Linked DNA regions of Homo sapiens: regions 2 and 3 are each linked to region 1. Evidence: promoter capture Hi-C in 16 types of primary human blood cells and fetal thymus (Javierre and others, 2016). All regions are on one chromosome and are shown on one strand. The core of a region is centred on a gene start or on the middle of the fragment in contact, and the rest is flanking DNA. Distances in the headings are between cores, read along the strand shown. Region 1 holds the start of NXPE3 (neurexophilin and PC-esterase domain family member 3). Region 2 has its middle 150 kb from the start of RDUR. Region 3 has its middle 110 kb from the start of RDUR.

What was found. The method cuts DNA at HindIII sites, captures the fragments that hold promoters and counts their contacts. A CHiCAGO score of 5 or more calls a contact.
Region 2: a contact is called between a fragment that was not itself captured here and the fragment with the promoter of NXPE3 in region 1, in 2 of 17 cell types (non-activated CD4 T cells and naive CD8 T cells). The highest score is 8.2, in non-activated CD4 T cells.
Region 3: a fragment that was not itself captured here is called in contact with the fragment with the promoter of NXPE3 in region 1 in 2 of 17 cell types (non-activated CD4 T cells and naive CD4 T cells); the score reaches 5.7 in non-activated CD4 T cells.

What each region holds. Positions count from the first base shown.
Region 1 is chr3:101,777,850-101,780,626 of GRCh38, forward strand. It overlaps NXPE3 (neurexophilin and PC-esterase domain family member 3), which reads left to right and starts at 1,362. Exons shown (of 8, transcript NM_145037.4): 1 at 1,362-1,475. RefSeq lists enhancers at 1,176-1,470, 2,035-2,084 and a silencer at 1,275-1,624. The HindIII fragment of the contact is 3,350 bases long and covers 1-2,777 here.
Region 2 is chr3:102,087,027-102,089,803 of GRCh38, forward strand. No RefSeq gene overlaps it. Among named protein-coding and RNA genes, the nearest start is that of RDUR, 150 kb to the left of the region's middle. The HindIII fragment of the contact is 7,656 bases long and covers 1-2,777 here.
Region 3 is chr3:102,054,083-102,056,859 of GRCh38, forward strand. No RefSeq gene overlaps it. Among named protein-coding and RNA genes, the nearest start is that of RDUR, 110 kb to the left of the region's middle. The HindIII fragment of the contact is 752 bases long and covers 1,048-1,799 here.

The DNA.
Region 1 (2,777 bases), core at 112-2,611:
ATCAGATCATTACTACAATGGTTGAACTAGTTTACAGTCCCACCAACAGTGTAAACGTGTTCCTACTTCTCCACATCCTCTCCACCACCTGTTGTTTCCTGACTTTTTAATGATCGCCATTCTAACTGGTGTGAGATGGTATCTCATTGTGGTTTTGATTTGCATTTCTCTGATGGCCAGTGCTGATGAGCATTTTTTCATGTGTTTGTTGGCTGCATAAATGAACACTTGGACACAGGAAGGGGAACATCACACACCTGGGCATGTTGTGGGGTAGGGGGAGGGGGGAGGGATAGCATTAGGAGATATACTTAATGTAAATGACGAGTTAATGGGTGCAGCATACCAACATGGCACATGTATACATATGTAACAAACCTGCACGTTGTGCACATGTACCCTAGAACTTAAAGTATATTAAAAAAAAAAAAAAGAAGATCATTACTACAGAAGAGATCTTCCACCCTGTGGCAGAACTTCCTTTTATCCCATTCACGGATCTGGTTGCCCACGAAGCAGGCCTGCCATGAAAACATCTGAATGAGCATGCAGAGTCCATTATGGTCAAGAAATGGAAAAATACTTAGTTGTCATGTACATTAATTATTTTTCTTAAACCTTGGGGTAATAGTCCGGGGGCAGGCCTGCTTTTGGGGCCTGTGTTAACCCCACTGTGCTCCAAGCACAGAGAAACACGGTGCAGCCCACAATTCCTTCTGGTTTCTTGAACAAGTGTCTTCTCAGGACTCCTCTCAGTTCCTGAATTTCACAAAACTGCTACCGACGTTTTACCAGTTAGAAAAATGTCCAAAATAGGATAACCCAGAATTGGGGATGGTGGAGGGTGAGGAAAGTATGCTTTGCCAAGAGACCGACATCATGTACAGTGAGAGTAAAAGGAACGGGCTGTTTTACTGGCGAGTAGAAGTTGTTGACTAATGTCAAAGCAAGGAAAAGATTCAAGGATCCGCTATATCCGTGCTTATACTTGGCAAATCGCATTTCTCTGGTTCAGGGCACAATAAATTCCATCACTCCACAGGAAAGACTGCCCTACTAGAGTCAACTGCGGTTGTGGGCACTTTCGCTGACAAGCGAAAAGCCTTGAGGTAGGTGGATGCTCCCAGGAAACTCAGACGTCCGAAGTTCACGAGGAGTTGGGTCGTGAGAGGGGCCAGACCTCGATCCGCGGGGCGACAGCTGCAGTGTCGCGTCGCGAGCAGGAGCTTGGCGGCGTAGAGCGCCAGGGTGCCAACTTCGCTTCCAGGCCTGTGGGTTCCGCCCGGCGCGTGCTGCTGTCAGTCAACGCCCTCGGCCCGCCCCCGCCGAAGCTCCACCAATCGTAGCCGGGGGTCGGAGGTGAGGAGACGTCGCCGGGTGAGGAAGCGGGGGGCTAGCGGCCTGGCGCTGCGGCGACCGACCGGGGCGTCAGGATCCCTGGCCCCCGGAGAGCGAAGGGCGGGCGGGTCCCGGAGGTGAGTGCTGGATGTGGTCTGTGTGCGGACGTCGGGAGGGGCCGCTGCGGGCGGAGCGACCCATTGCCCGGCTCTGCCAGCGCGCTCCTAGACTGCGAAGCCCCTCCCTCCGCGCGCATCTGCTCCCGAGTCCCCAGCCCCGTGCTGATAGGTGCAGCCCCTGGAGTCGTGGCTGTGGGCATAGGTGCCAGGGAGGGGAGGCCCGGGTCGAAGGCATAGGCAGAATTGGAGCCCTGGGTTGCCAAAGCGTCGCAGCTAAGAAGCCGGAGCCCAGGCTAGTACCGGCGGGGCGGGGCGGGGCGGGGCCGGGAGCGAGCATCTCCATCCTCAGTTTCCTCCACTTGCGGCAACGCCACAGCTCGGTACAGTTCGGACCTCCACGCCGCAGCGAAAGACTTCTGTCCTCCAGGCACCTTCACTAACCCGGTGCGGAGCACTTGGCGACGCCTCCCTGCCCATCTCATATCTCTCGGCTCATCGCTGCTCTGGGCACCAGCTGCCTCTTGGCTGGCGCTGCTGTCACACGGTGGACTGTTCTGGCCTTACTGAGCTGCCGTTTGGGGACATCAGATTCAGGTCGTATGGGGAGAAACGAGTGTAACTTTACAAGGTGTGATATGGAGACCCTGGCCTGTTGCCCATTTCTGCCTGATCAAAGGCCACTAGGGTGGTAATAAGAGGGGTTCCGAGGCAGGATTTATGCAGCATTTGTGCAAAATTGTAAATTTTCTTTGCTTTTCATTATTTACATTAAAGGGGGATTGTTGCCACATTTCCTAAAGATAAAGAATCACACTGCTTTGGTGGGCCTCCCCGCTCCTCACTGTGGTTAATTATCATTTGGAACATCAGGATATATTTGAAACTGGCAGGACTCCCAGACCCTGATAATTGTTTGGAGGCAGCAGTATACTATTTCTCCGTAGTGTTTGGGTTCTGCTTTTCTTTGAATTTGTTTAGTATTTTTTTTTCCATGTCTGTTATCCTCACAATCTCTTTGGGGCCAATAGAGTGCTGTTATTTGTTACTGAGAAAGGAAACGAAGGGATAAATCACTGAAGTGGGGTTAGCCTTCCCCATTGCCTGGGAATTGGGTTGTCCTGACCTGACAATTTAAGTTACAATTCAAACATCATTTTGGAAAGGCCATCCTTTTACCAACTGAAACGAATAACAGTCCCTGGCCACTCTATACTAGTGGTTCTCCCACTTGGCTGTATGTTGTAATCATCTAGGGACCTTTTTAAAAAAAGCTACTTCTTGGGCCTATTCCTACAGATTCTGATTTAATTGTTTGAGTGG
Region 2 (2,777 bases), core at 169-2,668, 310 kb after region 1:
CTGAGTAAACAAATGTTAACAATTTGGTATATATCCTTTCAGACATTCCTCTATATTCATATAAAGATATATAAGTACACACGTATATTTTTAATTTTAAAAAGGAAAATATGATAAAATATATACACCTACTATGTCCCCACAAAAATTAAAAAAGTTTTTAAAAAGGAAAACATGACAAAAAGGGTGTGCCATAGTTTACTTTGCTAATATATTATTACATCTTTCTAGGTCAATATATGTGTATCTCACTCATTTTTAAGTGGCTGCATAATTTTCTATATGACTGATATACCATAATTTATTCAAACGTTCACCTACCAGGAGCCTCATGACATGTCCAGTTGGGCCACCTCTGATGTCAGCCACACTTGAAGGGGACAGTTCCACGTGAATGTAGAATCAGCTTGTGCTGACAGCATCTTGACTCAAGTATGTGTCTTGAGTTGTTTTGCTTTTTTTCTCTAGAGTTTCTCTCTAATGGCTGTGCTCCCACCTCCTGACCGCCAGTGGGCAATTCTGTAAGTTATTCAGGAGGCAGAATCAAGTGCTGTTGCTTTCAGGAGTGATCAACTTCCATTTTTAATTGGGCTTTTCAATCTTCCCCGCCTCATTCTCCCTGGTCCCATGATCCCCTCTTGGAGTCACCTTCCAAATAAACTGGCTGTGCAGGAGTCTTTCTAATGACAGACATATGGATAATTTTTACTGTTTTTTTTTTTTTTTTTTGTGATGGGGTCTTGCTGTCACCCAGGCTGGAGTGCAATGGTGCAATCTCGGCTCACTGCAACCTCTGCCTCCTGAGTTCAAGCGATTCTCCTGCCTTAGCCTCTCAAGTAGCTGGGATTACAGGTAAGCACAACGAAGCCCGACTAATTTTTGTATTTTCAGTAGAGATGAGGGTTTTGCCATGTTGGCCAGGCTGGTCTTGAACTCCTGACTGTGGGCGATCCACCCACCTTGGTCTCCCAAAGTGCTGGGATTACAGGCATGAGCCACTGTGCCTGGCCGATTTTTACTGTTAATAAACAGAGATGCACTGAACTTCTTTTTTAAATATTATACATCAGTGCTTTTTTATTTTTAAGTATTAGATTATCAAATGAAATGTGTCATCAGATTACATTTCAAAAAGGCTATAGCAAATCACAGGCCAAGTGACAGTATGCAGGAATCCTTTTTATATACACACTACCCATCAAAGATTACTGTACAATTTTTGCCACTCTGATTTGAAAGTAGTGGTATGTCATATTGCTATATTTTCCTGTCAGATGTGATGCAAGGGGCATCTTTTCATGTTTTTGAAAATTTATTTATGTCAGCTCATGCAAAAAACCATCTGAGATTGATTAAAGACATAAATGAAAAAACATAGTGAAAATATTCAAAGAAATTTCAGAGAAAGTTTGTTTCACCATGTGTGAGGAAGACATTCTTAACTATAAATAAAGATGGATAAACTTGACTAGATTAAAATTTTGCTTTTTTTTTAAGTTCTGATTGAGCAAATGATACCATAAGCAAAGTTAAGACAAATGATGGACTGGCAAAAATATCTACAAAACATAAAATAGACATGATGAATTGATATAAAAATCAAGCTATCTTATAGAAAAGCAGGCAAAGGCCAAAAACAGAAGAAAATGTGTGGCATCTTCCTTCCTATTAGCAGTATAATTCTCCAGGTTATTTTTAGATGTACACACAAACAGAGGCCTGTAAGCTCAGGACCAATCTTTTCAAGAGAATTCGTTCAGACAGAGCTTACTTTGACTTGGGGACTACAGGTCAGCTGCTCTGGAATTCAGAGGCCACATCTCTGTAACACAATGGAAGTTACAAATAGTCTAATACATTTTGTCTACCTAGACCCAAGAATAATGTCCTTGTATTATGTGGGCTGGCATTCATACACCTAACTTCTCTTGGCCTGCATCATTTATCTGATTCTTCCCAATATATTGGATTAGGCAATTTCTAAACTTTATAAACCCTTTTATTGTGTGTGTAGTTCACCCCATCATATCAGCCACCAGGTAGAACCCCCAAGGTATCACAAGTCTGTGCAATTTATTTTGATATCTTAAAAGCATTAAAAAAATCTCATCTCACACAGAACATAAAACAGATATATTGCAATGCAGTGATGCCAGATGGGTTAACATTTATATTTCTTTTCTACTCAATGCTCCATGGTGAAAATAATAGTATTTCTTTATCCTTGTTTGTACTGTCTGAATGCCATAAATTACGGCTCTGCTCCAAAGCTGGTGCTTTATAAAGCCATAATCTGTTCACACACAAATAAAATGTCTTTCTGTATTTGGCCTTTGGACATAACTTCAGTGGGGGGAGAATTTATGAGCTATCAGATCCATGAGCTGCATCAGGTGTGCCAGAAGTTATGTTGATATGGCACATGAACTTAGATTCAAATCTAAGTTTAAGGTTTTAATGGGCCAGTTAAGTACAAACACTGGGGCCTGGTTTTCCTTCCCCATTGAACGAACCACTTTTTGCATAGGAATCTATTTATTTTAAATGTAAGTATAGAGAGGGAATAGCCTCAGAGGCAAGTGCTCACTGGGAGAGGAGAGAGGGGATCGATTCTTCTTTTGTAGTTGCTGCCGTTAAACTCCAGATGAAAAGATGCCTAGTGACATGAAGCTGTGAAAATGCCTTCAGACAATGTTTTAGAGCCTGAGATAAACAGTAATGGGACACAGCTAATTAGCTATTAAAACAATTGAATGGATTTCATTGAATTTTTACCA
Region 3 (2,777 bases), core at 174-2,673, 280 kb after region 1:
ATCCAGAATTTTCTAACTTTTGATGAAATCCTTCAAGTACAGTAAGTCCTCACTTGACCTTGTTGATAGGTTCTTGAAAATTGTGACTTTAAATGAAACAACACATCATGAAACAAATTTTATCAGAGGCTAATTGATTTAAACAAGAGTTAAGTTCCTATGGTATGTTTCTGGTAACAAAAACATTACCAAACTTCTGACCCAAAACACTTCTAATATCAAACATTGAAATAAGTGTGAGCTATATACATATATTTAAGAAAGATTAATAAGAACGAGTCAGATAATTATTTACCCAGTTTTTGGTGAATCAGTGAGTGATGGCAGTCTTCGTGGTGGTGGGTTAAATCAAAGAATAAGTGTCTGCAAAGTAAAAATGGTAGAGAGCACCTCCTCCCACCACGCAGTTCAAACACAATTACAAATATTCATACCACATCATTTATTGTCATGCATTTGGATGATTATCATAGATTTTATGAATTTTAAAAATTGTTTTATTTCATTACAAATTTGTATTTGGCAATAACTTGTGTTCATTTATTTATTTTGCAACCCACTTATTCCAGTTCAGAGTCGTAGGTGGCCTGGGAGACTATCATGGGGCAGCTCAGGAGGCAAGGTGGGAACCAGCCCTGGACCGCACGCCATCCCATCACGGGGCACACTCATACCCACACCCACACTCACTCAGTCTAGGACAATTTAGATATACCGATAAACCTAACATCTTTGGGATGTAGGAGGAAGCCGGAGAACCTGGAGAAAACCCAAGCAGGCCTGGCGAGAACATGCAAACTCCACACAGACAGTGATCCCTGCCAGGAATTGATTTTGCTTTTTCTCATAAATATTATAACAAAAGTGTGTTGAATAAAAACATGATTCGAGAACCTGGTATCGTACTCATTTACGATACCAGTATGTTCCAGCTCTGGGGAGTATAATATCAAAAGGCCTGGCAGAAAACTTCCTCTCTTCCTTATAATGCTTGCTCTCCCCATAACATTAAAAATCTTTGGTTGTTTGTAGGGCCCAGGGTAAAAAAGCTTTATTTATTATTTTCACTGTTACCTCTTTCCTTTTCGGAGACACAGAGAGAATGAAAATAAAAAGGCTTTTCCATGCTTACATGAACATTTCCATTTCTGTTGACTAAGAATAAACAGGGACTATTTGGTTGTTTTGGCTAATTGCAATGTAACTACTTACACACTCCTCTTTTGTCATCTGTAATCTTGCACTAACCTTGAAACTACTCTTCCTTCCTTTATTGCTCTCCAATCTTGTCTACTTCTAACATGTTATTACTGAATGTTCTTTTCTAAAATATACATGTGATCATATCACTCTTAAAAAACTTTAAAGATTAAAAAATATATTTTATAGGACTAATTCAAACTCTTTGCTTTAGATCATGAGATCTTTCATGATTTACAGCTAAGACTGGTAATGAACTATTACTATGTGTCTCTTTATGTGTGAGTCAATATGATAGGACATTTCAATGAACCCCATTTAACCTTCACAAGAATCCTGTGAAGTCAGTAGTTTTATCTCCATTTTTTACAATAAAAAAGCTGAGCTTAGAGAGATTAAATAATTTCCCCCCAAATAATGAATAGCATATTCTTATCTGCCACTGATCTCTCCTAAGCAGCCACATGCACCTAAAGCACTGAAGTCTTCATCGATGTCGGGATTGAACTGTATTTTCCTCATGCCTCTCTAACTTTCCTTATGCTGGATCTGCTGCCTGGAGTGAGAAGAAATCTTGTTCACTGGTCAATCTTAAAGAAAGCTTCAAGGTCCAGAAACCTGCCCTTTACTCTTGTTTAACCATTTTGTCTCCTGGAGAGATGGTTAGACGCACCCACCCTTGTGAGCCAGTAACCCTGGGTGGATATGTCAAATCACTAGAGGGTGAATCCCAGGTATGAAAAGTGTCCTGCCCTCACTCATCACCCAGGGACTGCTGATATCACCAAAAAACTTTTCAAGAAATTGAGGAAGAATAGAATATAGAGGAATTTTAAGTTACTGTAGTATTCCCATTATAGACGATCTAATGCCCATTGATTTTTCCTTCCTTTTTTATTAAAAAATCTTTTTGATATATTGAGACCAATGTGCTTACACAAAAGGAGTTAGTGCCCACATATTCAAATGTCCAATAGAGAGATTTCTCTTATATTATAGGTGTATTGTATTTTTTAATTGAAAGTGTTTATTGTGGTAAAATACACATAAAACTTATCTGAATTTTAAGTGTGCAGTTCAGTGGTGTTAAATATATTCACATTGTTGTGCAACTAATTTCCAGAACTTTTTCATCTTGCAAAACTGAATATACCCACTAAACAACAACCCACTATACCCACTAAACAACTCTCCATTCTTTCCTCCCCCTAGGCCCTGCCAACCATCATTCTTCTTTCTAGTTCTATGAGTCTGATGATTCTAGATACATTATACAAACAGAATCATACTTCAACATTCTCAACATGTATTCATGTTGTAGCATTTCCTTCCTTTTCAAGGCTGAATAATATTTGTGTGTGTGTGTGTGTGTGTACCACATTTTGTTTATCCATTCATCCCAATAGACACTTGGGTTGTTTCTTCCTTTTAGCTCTTGTGAACAATGTTGCTATGAACATGAGTGTACCAATATCTTTTCATGTCTATGCTTTCAATTCTTTTGAATATTGTATTCATCTCTTCTCACATTGCTATGAAGAAATACCTGATACTGGATAATTTATAAAGAAAAGGGG